Linked DNA regions of Homo sapiens: region 2 is linked to region 1. Evidence: promoter capture Hi-C in human tissues and cell types (Jung and others, 2019). All regions are on one chromosome and are shown on one strand. The core of a region is centred on a gene start or on the middle of the fragment in contact, and the rest is flanking DNA. Distances in the headings are between cores, read along the strand shown. Region 1 holds the start of MS4A15 (membrane spanning 4-domains A15). Region 2 overlaps LOC105369325 (a long non-coding RNA gene).

Region 1 (5,397 bases), core at 2,423-4,922:
CTTTAGTTTTTTCTCCGGCATGGGGATAGCATGTATTAGGTCTATATAAGTGTCCACAGTAACATGGAGAGATTTAAAACGTCCAAAGGGTGGATACTGAGTAACATCAGTTTGCCAGATAGCATTAGGCACCAGACCTCGTGGGTTGGCACCAAGTCCTAAGGAAAAAGGGGAAAGAGAATGCCATTGGCAATCAGGATAAGTTTTAATAATCATGTGAGCTTGAGCAAGTGTTAAATGAAACTGTTGTTTAAGACTGCAGGCGTTCTGATGGAAAAAAAGCATGATCAGCTTGAATTCGCAAAAAAGCAGGAGAGTCTGCAAACCACATCTGTGTGTGTACCAGAGCATTAGCTCGAGCGTTCCCTTCTGATAAGGGACCAGGTAGCCCAGAATGAGAGTGAATATGTGTGATGTAAAGAGGGTGATGATCGAAGGGGGCTTGCCCCTCCACACCTGTGGGTATTTCTCGTCAGGTGGAGACAAGAGACTGAGAAAAGAAATAAGACACAAAGTACAGAGAAAGAACGGTGGGCCCAGGGGTCCGGCACACTCAGCATGCGAGGAACTGCACCGGCGCCGGTCTCCGAGTTCCCTCAGGGTTTATTGATTACTATTTTCACTATCTTGGCATGGGGGGTGCGGCAGAAGAACAGGGTGAACAGGGTGATGGTGGGGAGAAGGTCAGCAGGAAAACATGTGAGTAAGGGAATCTGCATCATAAATAAGTTCAAGGGAAGGTACTGTGCCCAGATGTGCACGTAGGCTAGATTTATGTTTCTCTTTACCCAAACATCTCAGTTAGTAAAGAGTAACAGAGCAGTATTGCTGCCAGCATATCTCGCCTCCAGCCACAGGGCAGTTTTCTCCTATCTCAGAATAGAACGAATAGTCGGCTTTACACCGAGACATTCCATTCCCAGGGACATGTGGGAAACAGAGGACTTCCTCTTATCTCAACCACAAAGAGGCCTTCCTCTTTTACTAATCCTCCTCAGCACAGACCCTTTACGGGTGTCGGGCTAGGGGATGGTAAGGTCTTTCCAATCCCACGAGGCCATATCTCGGGCTGTCTCAGTCGGGGGAAACCTTGGACAACACCCAGGCTTTCTTGGGCAGAGGTCCCTGCGGCTTTCCGCAGTGCATCGTGTCCCTGGTTAATAGAGAATGGAGAATGGCGATGACTTTTACCAAGCATACTGTCTGCAAACATATAGTTAACAAGGCACATCCTGCATACCCCTAAATCCCTTAAACCTTGATTCAGTACAGCACATGTTTCTGTGAGCACAGGGTTGGGGCTAAAGTTACAGGTTAACAGCGTCTCAAAGCATAACAATTTTTCTTTGTACAGATCAAAATGGAGTTTCTTTTGTCTTCCTTTTCTACATAGGCACAGTAACAGTCTGATCTCTCTTTCTTTTCCCCACAATGATGGTCACAGAGGAGCTCTTACGCTGCAAGAAACAAAGCTAGTAGGGGTTCATTAGTAATGCCCTTCACATGTGCAAGATCTAAATGAGTAATACTACACACCGCATAAGCGGAATCACTAACTATGTTTATGTCTTGGTGAGGAAAAGTTTGTAAGGCCAATATCAGGGCACCTAACTCTGCCTGTTGCGTGGTTTTAAAATGTTCCTGGATTTTGTGCTGCCATTTTTGCATGGCCTATTGCCACACTGTAGCTGCTCTTCCAGTTTTTCCTAAACCATCTGTAAAGACAGTAGTGGCATGAAGCAAGGGCTCAGAAACAACAATAGATACAAATTTAACAGGCACAGTTTGTAAAAAGTTCAGGAGCTTAGAGGCTGGTAAATGAAAGCTGATATTACCAATAAAGTCAGCTATTGCGATTTGCCAATCAAGAGCACAAGCTAGAAGAGTATGAAATTGTTTTTTGCTTAAAGGTAGGAAAACAGTAGCAGGGTTATTTTTGCCATATGCCTGGTTAGGTCACAATTACAATATGTGGTTCCGGTCATTATTGCAGCAAAAGTTTGAGTCAGATGAGTTGTAGTGCCTATATTTTGGCATGCTTTAATAAACACACTGATTTCAGTGGCAGTGGCTTAGACTGGAGTTATTGCTGTCTGACAATCCTTATTTGCTTTTTCAAAAGCCAATTGTAACATAAGAAGTTTGGTAGCCTTAGGATGGGATACCTGTTTTTCAATTGCAGCTTGCAGTCGGTTGATAAATTTAATGTATGTTTCTGTGGCACCTTGTTTAACTGTTATAAAGGAACCCTGGGATTGTCTTACGGGATTTTTTTTTTTTATGTTTGTATTGCTAGCTGTGAGCATTGAGGAAATAGATGGCCACCTGCTTGACCCTGAGTCTGAGCTGAAGCAAAAGGCCCTGTTCCCAATAGCATATCAAGTTGTATCGGGATATTATTATCCAAATTTTGCAAGGACTGCTGCATGGCTAAATCACTGTACTCACTCCACCACACAGTATATTCTGCAGCTGAAACCAAAACATTTACCAAAGTTTTCCAATCATGTGGAGTCATCTTATAGCCATTTCCCAGAGCCTCAATCACCTCCTTCGTAAACGGTGAATGTACACTGTTTTCACGGATACTTTTCTTTAACTCTTTAAAGACAGTAAAAGGCAAACTCTCATGCCATCTCCTGTTGCTTTGAACAATAACAGGGAATGCGCCAAAAAGCGCCTCAGAGTCTCCCTTCCTAAGTCCCTCTTGGAGGCACCCCTCTACTAAGAAAGTTTGACGAGGAGTTGGCGTTGAGGACACGGCCACCCGATCATATAGATATTCACTGACTGGAGGTCTTATCCAAGAACCATCTCTTGGGCGGCCTCCAGACTCCTCAAGGGGGATGGGAGGCGCCATTGCCTGAACGGGGCCAACGAATACAGGTCCCTTTAAGGGTGGAGGAAAAGAGGGCAATGGCTTTTCTATAGGGGGAGGAAAAGGCTCCGGTCCGTCCTCATGATCACTAGAAAAAAATATCCTCCTTATGCCCTACAGAAGGGAATGAAGTAGAGAGAGGACCCCCCGCCCGCCTCCCGCTGTCCTGGTTGGCTCCTGTTCTTCCTTCTCCTTTAAACCTCCTGAATTCCCTTCAGGCAAAGACGGGCGGTCTGACCCACTGCAATCTGGCAGATAAAGAGGATACAACACCGAGTGTACCGGCGCCCAGGTGGTCAAAACAATAACCTCAGTAAAATGACCTTGCTCACATCCTGTTTTCAGGCAGTGACCTACCTGCTCCATAACTCAAGTCTAAGGTTCCTTGATCAGGAAACCAAGGGCATTCCTGCCGAATTAAGATCATAGCGTTGTGTAGAGCTCCAGGCTCTGCAGTGCACTGGTTAGCCTTAAGTAGCTGTCGCACTGTTTTTAAAAAACACTTTCTGTTCTTTGGTCATTTCTTGACCCATGATAATCCAACCCCTGATATTTTACGCGTGGGTCCCATCCTCCTGACGGGAGTCAGGACTGTCCCTTACCGGGATTCCCCGAAAATTGATGAGTTTTCCTCCTTCAAGCGTAACTTCAAGGCGATCACGTCGGGGTCACCACTTGCAGAGCTTATAGCTTGCAGTGAACGCCAAGAATGAGTTCTTAGACAATTTCAGCTGAAGGGGGCTGGGAGAGGGGGTGGGGGCAGCTCTTCTGAGAGCCCGCCCTTGTGAGAGCCTGCCCTAGCATCTGTCCGCCAAGTATTTATTGAAAGGGATTGTTAAACCACAAACATCCACTAGATGGCTTTTTGAGGTGGGGTCATGAGACACCTGCGGCCTTGCAAAAGCTCTCAAACCACATTCTTAGGAGGCTGTTTTCAGCGTTCCTTATGACACACTTCACTCCTTGTCCTGTTTTTAGGGCCAAGGAGTTACATTCTTATGCACAAATAACATACACACAGTGCCTCCGTATTTTTCCATGCCCTGACCTCAAATGCCACGTACATAAGCTTGGATATGTTGCCATGTACCCCAACACTTTAGGTGTGGCTGGCCTGGGCAAACACTTTGGGAAAAAACACCCATTACCCAGGTGTCAGGAGATGAGCTTACCAGGAAACAACAGAGTGCTGAATCTGCCAGATTATACAATGAGATCGAAAACAGTCATCCTTCTTGTTGGCATGGGTGTGTGAGGAGTTTACCAGTTCAGTGTAAGGGTCTGAGATAGAAGCCAGGGTTTGAATTCTGGCTCCTCTTGTTACTGTGAGGCACGGGAGCGAGAGGGTCACCCTCTGCCTCAGTTTCCTTACCTGTGAAATAGGGATAATACCAATCTCATAGAGTTTGGTGGGAAACACACACCAACTTGATAAAATCCATCCCTTACAACGTGACTTGTTATAACACGATGCGGCTGAGATGTTTTGTTAAATATAACATATCTAAGCCAGTGACTTACAATGGACCGTGGATGTGCATTGCTTCCCAGTGCTCTGAGACCTACTATGCATGCTCGGGAGAGCACCAGCTTGCAGATTGTGCAGCAGATTCTCTGTGGTTCTGCAAGCGCTCTTGGCTGATAAGGGCTCAGCCTCACTGTTCTGTGCTCAAAATATGTGTGTCTTCAGGAAGCCTCTGTGCCATTTATTTTGTGATAGGTCTGACCTATATTGGTGAACAAAGGGGGCAAGGGACAGCGTTGGACCCTATGCAGAGAAATAGAGCGAAAAGGACACATAGGCTCTTGAGCAAGGTTTTCAGTGACTGGAGGCACCTCCAAGGAGATGGCTGAGAAAACACAGGATAAGAATCTGCTGGCATTAAGGGGTGGGGGAAGCCATTTGACATTTTTAAGGGCTTACTAACATGGCTCCCTTCAGCCTAGGAGGTGTGACCAACACGTGATGCTCAGAGTGGATCACCAGAGGGATTGTGCTGTGACTTCCCAAATAGCACCGTCTCCACTGAGTCTCTCATTTCCAGGATCTGACACTAACCTGATTATTAGTAGACATGACAACTACTCAGAGCAGGGTTGGCAAACTTTTTTCAAGAATCAGATAGTAGGCCGGGCACGGCGGCTCACGGCTGTAATCCCAGCACTTTGGGAGGCCAAGACGGGTGGATCACAAGGTCAGGAGATTGAGACCATCCTGGCTAATATGGTGAAACCCTGTCTCTACTAAAAATACAAAAAATTAGCCGGGCGTGTTGGCGGGTGCCTGTAGTCTCGGGAGGCTGAGGCAGGAGAATGGTGTGAACCTGGGAGGCGGAGCTTGCAGTAAGCCGAGATCGCGCCACTGCGCTCCAGCCTGGGTGACAGAGCGCGACTCCATCTCAAAAGAAAAAAAAAAAAAGAGAGAATCAGATAGTAAATATTTTGGGCTTTGGGGACCCATATAACTTCGATTGCAAACACGTGACTCTTCCATTGTAGTGCAAAGCAGACATAGGCAA
Region 2 (5,811 bases), core at 2,572-5,071, 320 kb before region 1:
GTCCCCTCCCGATATTCCTGAAGGGACGTGATTTGTAACTGTGAAAAACGCAATCCAACTGTCAGAAGCAGATGGCACCAGCCGGGTAATCTGTGACCTCGGAGTGTCGTTCCTTTGATTCTGTACCAAGACCACTCTGCCGCGTGTGTACCAGGCTGGAAAGTAAAGCGTGCCCCATGGCATACAAGCCACACCCTGCCTGTGGCCTTGCCCGGCAGGAAGGGGGCTGCAGGGGAGCCCCTTTACTGGGCTGTGTGTTTCTGTGGGGGCTGGATCCTGCCCTCCAGGGGGCCACTCTCAGTGCCTGCTCTCTGTGCCCCTGTGAGGTTTATCTGACCAGTGTGCAGGGCTGCCGAGGTCCCTGGATGAGACAGGCATTGGGCAGGAAGCCCCGGGCTTGATGCTGGGCAACACGCCCATGGGTGAGGTCTGGGTAGGGTGTGGGAAAGAGTGTGGGGGGCGGAAGGAAGCTGGACCTGGCCCTGCCTCCGCTCTCACCCTCAGCCAGGCCCTGCCAAGGCTTCCTCCCCCAGGAAGACCTCCTCGGTTCCCTCTCTGCATTGAGGTATGGCCTGCTCCTTCTTCCTCCATCTTTTCTGGAGTCTAAGCTCCCTTCTGACTTTCCCCTCTGACAAAGGGGTTAGATAGAAAAGTGAGAAGTCTCAAATTCTGTAATCCCGAGAGCCCATTCCTCTCCAGACCCCGCTAATACACAGTGCGGACAGAGCGTGTCCAGTCAGGTTCCAGGACAATTTCTGATACAGGATGTGTGGAGAAAATGGGTTACTTAAAGCGCAAATGAAGATTTCTCCTGTGGGGTCCAGAGCTTAGCTGAAGTCCTTCCAGCATCTGGATCCCAAAGAGGGAGGCTGCATGCTGGGGACAAGGGCTGATGTCGGGGATCAGAGAGGCTTCTCTATGTTGAGGTCCAGAGTCGGGCATGCCACGGAGCAGCCACCCCTGGAAATGGGATCTTTCAGCCCAAGAGACCCTCAAAGGCTTTGGGACAGAGAACTCCTTTTTTGAGGTCCTGTTATTCACTGCCCCCCAGTTGTGAGTGAATCTAAAGGGAGGCCTGTGGGGCCCAGCTAATGAGCTCCCTTTCTTCTGGCCAGAGTTTGGGAATCCCAGGGAGCGGGGAGGAGGTTCTACTCCCAGCTTCTCAAGGTAGCCAGAACGACACGTGGGCCCCAGAGCTGGGGACAGAGCTCCCTCTCCAGGCACTTCATTGAGAGCTACTGGGGCTCTAGTCTGGTTTCTGGCTCCTCTGAGGGTGCCCCTGGCATAGGAAGTTGTCTAGGGGCACACTGAGCCCTGGGTGGAACAGGCGTCCTGACCTTGGGATCCATGTTTGTCCTTCAGTGTTCCACAAGCTGCCTGACACCATGGGTGGTCATTTGTGTGTTTTTCTGGGGAGAAGGCCCGCACCTTTAGTCTGCACCTCAGTGCCTCCCATGCCCCTAAAAAAGGCTCTATGCTGGGCTCATGCCTGTAATCTCAACACTTTGGGAGGCTGAGGCAGGCGGATCGCGAGGTCAGGAGATCGAGACCATCCTGGCTGTGGTGAAACCCTGTCTCCACTAAAAATACAAAAATTAGCTGGGCATGGTGGTGAGCGCCTGTAGTCCCAGCTACTCGTGAGGCTGAGGCAGGAGAATGGCGTGAACCTGGGAGGTGAAGTTGCAGTGAGCCAAGATTGCGCCACTGCACTCCAGCATGGCAACAGAGCGAGACTCCGTCTCAAAAGAAAAAAAAAAAAAAGAAAAAGAAAAAAAGAAAAGAAAAGGAAAAAAAAAGGCTCTAGAAGCTCTGGTGCAGTACAAGGCGGGTCTGCCTGGAAGTGTGGTTTCATATTTTGTTGGTTTGCCAGGTTTAGCTGCAGAGAATGCAAGTTCTCCCCACTTCGGAGACCGCGGCTTGGTGACCTGGGGTTTGTGCTTTGTGTCTTCATTGCTGAGCTCCTTGTGCAGTTACTTGTTCTGCTAGAGATTATAGCATTTCTTTCGTCTTCCCAGCTCCTGCAATGAGGTGAGGATGCCTCTGTTCTGAGGAGCCTCAGGTAGGGTGCTGGGGCTTGTTTGATTCAATAGTTGGAGCTGAAATGAATCCGTTATATAGAGAAGAAAGCTGAGTCCCCCCAGGGTCAAGTGACTGACACAGGCCCACATAGCTGGTCCAGACTTAAGGTTCTGGATCCCGGGTCCTTTCATCCTGTTATTCCTCAACCTTCCCTGTTGCTGTGGGAACAACAGAAGGGGCCAGAGAGGGTTAATTCTAGTAATTTTCATGCAGCAGCCGTGTAACCTACTGCACACTGCCATCCTACAAGCATGGGTTCTTGTCCGTGCATTATAGCTGTGGCCCAGAGTGGATGGTTCTGTTGTCTGACCCCAGAGTCCCTGAGTGTCCCACAAAACTATCCTGTTCCTTTGGATTTTCCTGATCTCTTTTTGCATCACCACAGGCTTCTTTGACTCCAGGAACAGCCCATTCATGTCAACCAAAATTCTAAATTCAGCACCTCAGAAGTATGACCAGCAAAACCGATCTGACACTAAGTCCCACTGGCCCCCTACTTTTAGTGGACAAAAAGGCCTCACAGGCTTCGTCTCTCCCAGGAATTTGAGGAGTTCAGAGATGAGGAGAGGGGATTGGACACAGCAAAGCCTGGCCTGGCAGAGAGGGGGGTGGGCGAGCCTCACCCTGAGAAGGTGTTTCTTCCTCCTTATGGCCGTGGTCCTTTTTGATGTTAGATGCTTTTGTTTCCCAGGTGTATGGGGACCTGGGACCTGTGGGTTTTGGAGTGCTTGTCATGACTAGGCCCAGCTTTGGGGACAGGGTGGGGACGACTACTCCCAGGTTCTCAAGAGGAAAAAACTTCTGTACATTTCAGAAATGCAATAGATCTGTTATCAGCTCTACGCACTGCAAAACGCAAGTTCCTTTCTTATTTGATCTGACAGTGAAAAAATTCACAGATGTTTTATTGGAAGGTTAGAAAATAAAAAAGAACCCTTTCTCAGTCCAGGTAGTCTGCCCCCCATCACCTTGGCGTGTCTGCGGCTGTGCTGGGCCTGGGCTTGTGCGTGGATGAGGAGACAAGGCTCAGAGTGGAGCAGGGGGAGGCTCGGAGGCCTTTGCTTTGCAGCCCCACCCGCAGGCTCAGCAGGGTGGGCCCCTGTGCTAACACTCACCCCCACCCTGCCCCTCAGTTCTTGTTTCCATCTACCTTCGTCCCTCTCACCAGTCCCAACGCAGAGGGCCAGGTTTTCTTTAGTTTTCTTAACTACGTCTTTTCTTCTGGTTGGGAAAAATAATATTTACTACCTCTTGTACAGTTTGGAAATACATAAAATATGTAGAAAAAAATTAAATGTGGCTGGACGTGGTGGCTTGTGCCTGTAATCCCAGCACTTTGGGAGGCCAAGGCAGGCAGTTCACCTGGCTGTTGGTCAGGAGTTCGAGACCAGCCTGGTCAACATAATGAAACCACGTCTCTACTAAAAATACAAAAACTAGCCAGGTGTGGTGGCGGGTGCCTGTAGTCCCAACTACTCAGGAGGCTGAGGCAGGAGAATCGCTTGAACCCAGGAGATGGAGGTTGCAGTGAGCCGAGATCACGCCATTGCACTCCAGCCTGGGTGACAGAGTGAGACTCTGTCTCAAGAAAGAAAAAAAATTAAATCAGCTCAGAATCCCACAAGGCAGAGGTCTCCCCAGTAACCACCAGCTGCAGAGGCTGTGTGCCTCAGTTGCGTGCCAGCTGATGACCTCCTCAGCACAACCAGTTAAACCTTTATTTATTTCAGCTTTTCTCTATCTTTATAAAGCTTTTCCCCCCTTCATTGTGAAGATAGCATGCTCATTGGAGACAATTTGGAAAGCACAGAAAGATATTTTCATGCTTCTTTAAGCAAAGAGAGGAAATTTATTCCCATCTCCCCAAACTGCCATCAGCAGTTTGGAGTAGCTCCTGGTCTTTGTGGACTTTTGAAAAAGCACATGTTGTCTGGGCGCAGTGGCTCATGCCTGTAATCCTAGCACTTTGGGAGGCCGAGGCGGGTGAATCACAAGGTCAGGAGATCGAGACCATCTTGGCCAGCATGGTGAAACCCCGTCTCTACTAAAGACACAAAAATTAGCCGGTCGCAGTGGCGTGCGCCTGTAGTCCCAGCTACTCTGGAGGCTGAGGCAGGAGAATCACTTGAACCCAGGAGGCGGAGGCTGCAGTGAGCCAAGATCATACCACTGCACTCCAGCCTGGGCAATAGAGCAAGACTCTGGCTCAAAAAAAAAAAAAAAAAAAAGCATATTTTTTCCAGTTGAGAGCATGTTCTATAGAAGATTCTGGGTCCTGGTTTGTCACGCGACAACAGAGTAACATAAGCATTTCCCATGTTAATACAAACAGCAGTCCTCACGTATGTTCTGGGCTCATGTGCACAGACTCTACCCAGCACTGTGCAGGCACCATCTTGCTCAGTTCTTGAGAAACCTTATGAGGCAGGTGTGGTTATTAATTTTGCAGACAAGGAAGCCGAGCTGACCTCATCTGAGGTCTGAGAGCCAGGGAGCAACAGGGGATTGGCGTCGAAGGCTCAGCCAGCTTAGATCCCTGCTCTTAATCACTAGGTTATCTCTCCTGTGAATTTTTAGTGACCTTTCTAGTTTTGTATAAAACCAGAAAATGACCTTTGTTAAAAATTCAGGAATTACTGAACAGCATAAAGAATATTCAGAATCCTATCACCCAGTGATATTTATTCTGGCAATTGGCAGTTTCTTGTGCATAGTCTTCATATTTTTATAGTTGATGTTATCCTAACCTTTCAGTTTCGAATGTGGTGTTTTTTAAATTTATTTTTGTATGTATTTCCCAAGTCATTAGTTCCTCTTGGCAAAACATAATGTTTATTGATGGTTTGTCCGTCCATTGAGTGGTCGGTCTTGATGGGTGTAATCACTTCCCTGAGGTTGGGCTTTCAGGCTGCGGCTCTCTGAAATAATAAATAATTTAGGAATCAATACGTTTCTGCACAAAATGGTTTGTGTATTTCTGACAATTTCTTTAGGCTGCGCATATTCCCAGGAACTGAATTGCTGGGTTGAGGGTTTTTACAGTTCTTAACTTATATTGCCAAATTATTTTCCAGATGGTCCGTAACTCTTTACTCTTCAATTAGCAATACCCTGTTTACTCCTAACTAGATGAATATGTGACCTTGTTTTAGTTTGCACTCCTTTTATTTCTAATGAAGCTGAATTTCTAAATGTGTTTATTGGTCACTGGTGAGTCTTCTTTTGCGCACTGTCTAAAGCAGTGCTTTCCAATCAAGCTTTCTGCAATGATAGAAATGGCCTGTATCTTCCTGTTTAATAGGGTCCACGTGGCCTATATCTGCCTGTCCAGCAGCAACCAGCCAAATGTGTCCATTGAGTACTTGAAATATGGCTAGATAACTGAGTAAAATTTAAATTTAATTTTATTTAAATTTAGACTTAATTTACCTAAGGTTTTAATTTAAACTTGATTTTAATTTAATTTACCTAAGATTTTAATTTAAATCCTAAATTAATTTAAATTTAAATAGCCACATGTGGCTAGTGGCTACTATATTGGATAGCACACTCCTAAGCCTTTCCCCAGTTAGGCATTTGGGTCTCAGTGGGTGATTTATATTGATTTGTATGAGCTCTTTATTTATGATGGCTACTAATCTTTTTTATGTTTGTTGCAAAGATTTTACCCCACTTGCTATTTGACCTTTTTTGTTCAGGTTGTTTACAGGGTATCAAAATGTTAGGTAGCCA

Evidence for each region. The method cuts DNA at HindIII sites, captures the fragments that hold promoters and counts their contacts. A contact is called where the count stands out against the background at its distance.
Region 2: a fragment that was not itself captured here is called in contact with the fragment with the promoter of MS4A15 in region 1 in 1 of the 25 tissues and cell types used here (adrenal gland).

What each region holds. Positions count from the first base shown.
Region 1 is chr11:60,755,142-60,760,538 of GRCh38, reverse strand. It overlaps MS4A15 (membrane spanning 4-domains A15), which reads right to left and starts at 3,672. Exons shown (of 7, transcript NM_001098835.2): 1 at 3,481-3,672. The HindIII fragment of the contact is 8,663 bases long and covers 1-5,397 here.
Region 2 is chr11:61,076,833-61,082,643 of GRCh38, reverse strand. All of the region lies in intron 1 of LOC105369325 (a long non-coding RNA gene), which reads left to right. LOC124902677 (a long non-coding RNA gene) reads right to left here. Exons shown (of 2, transcript XR_007062690.1): 2 at 4,735-4,997. Among named protein-coding and RNA genes, the nearest start is that of CD5, 23 kb to the left of the region's middle. The HindIII fragment of the contact is 5,190 bases long and covers 1,227-5,811 here.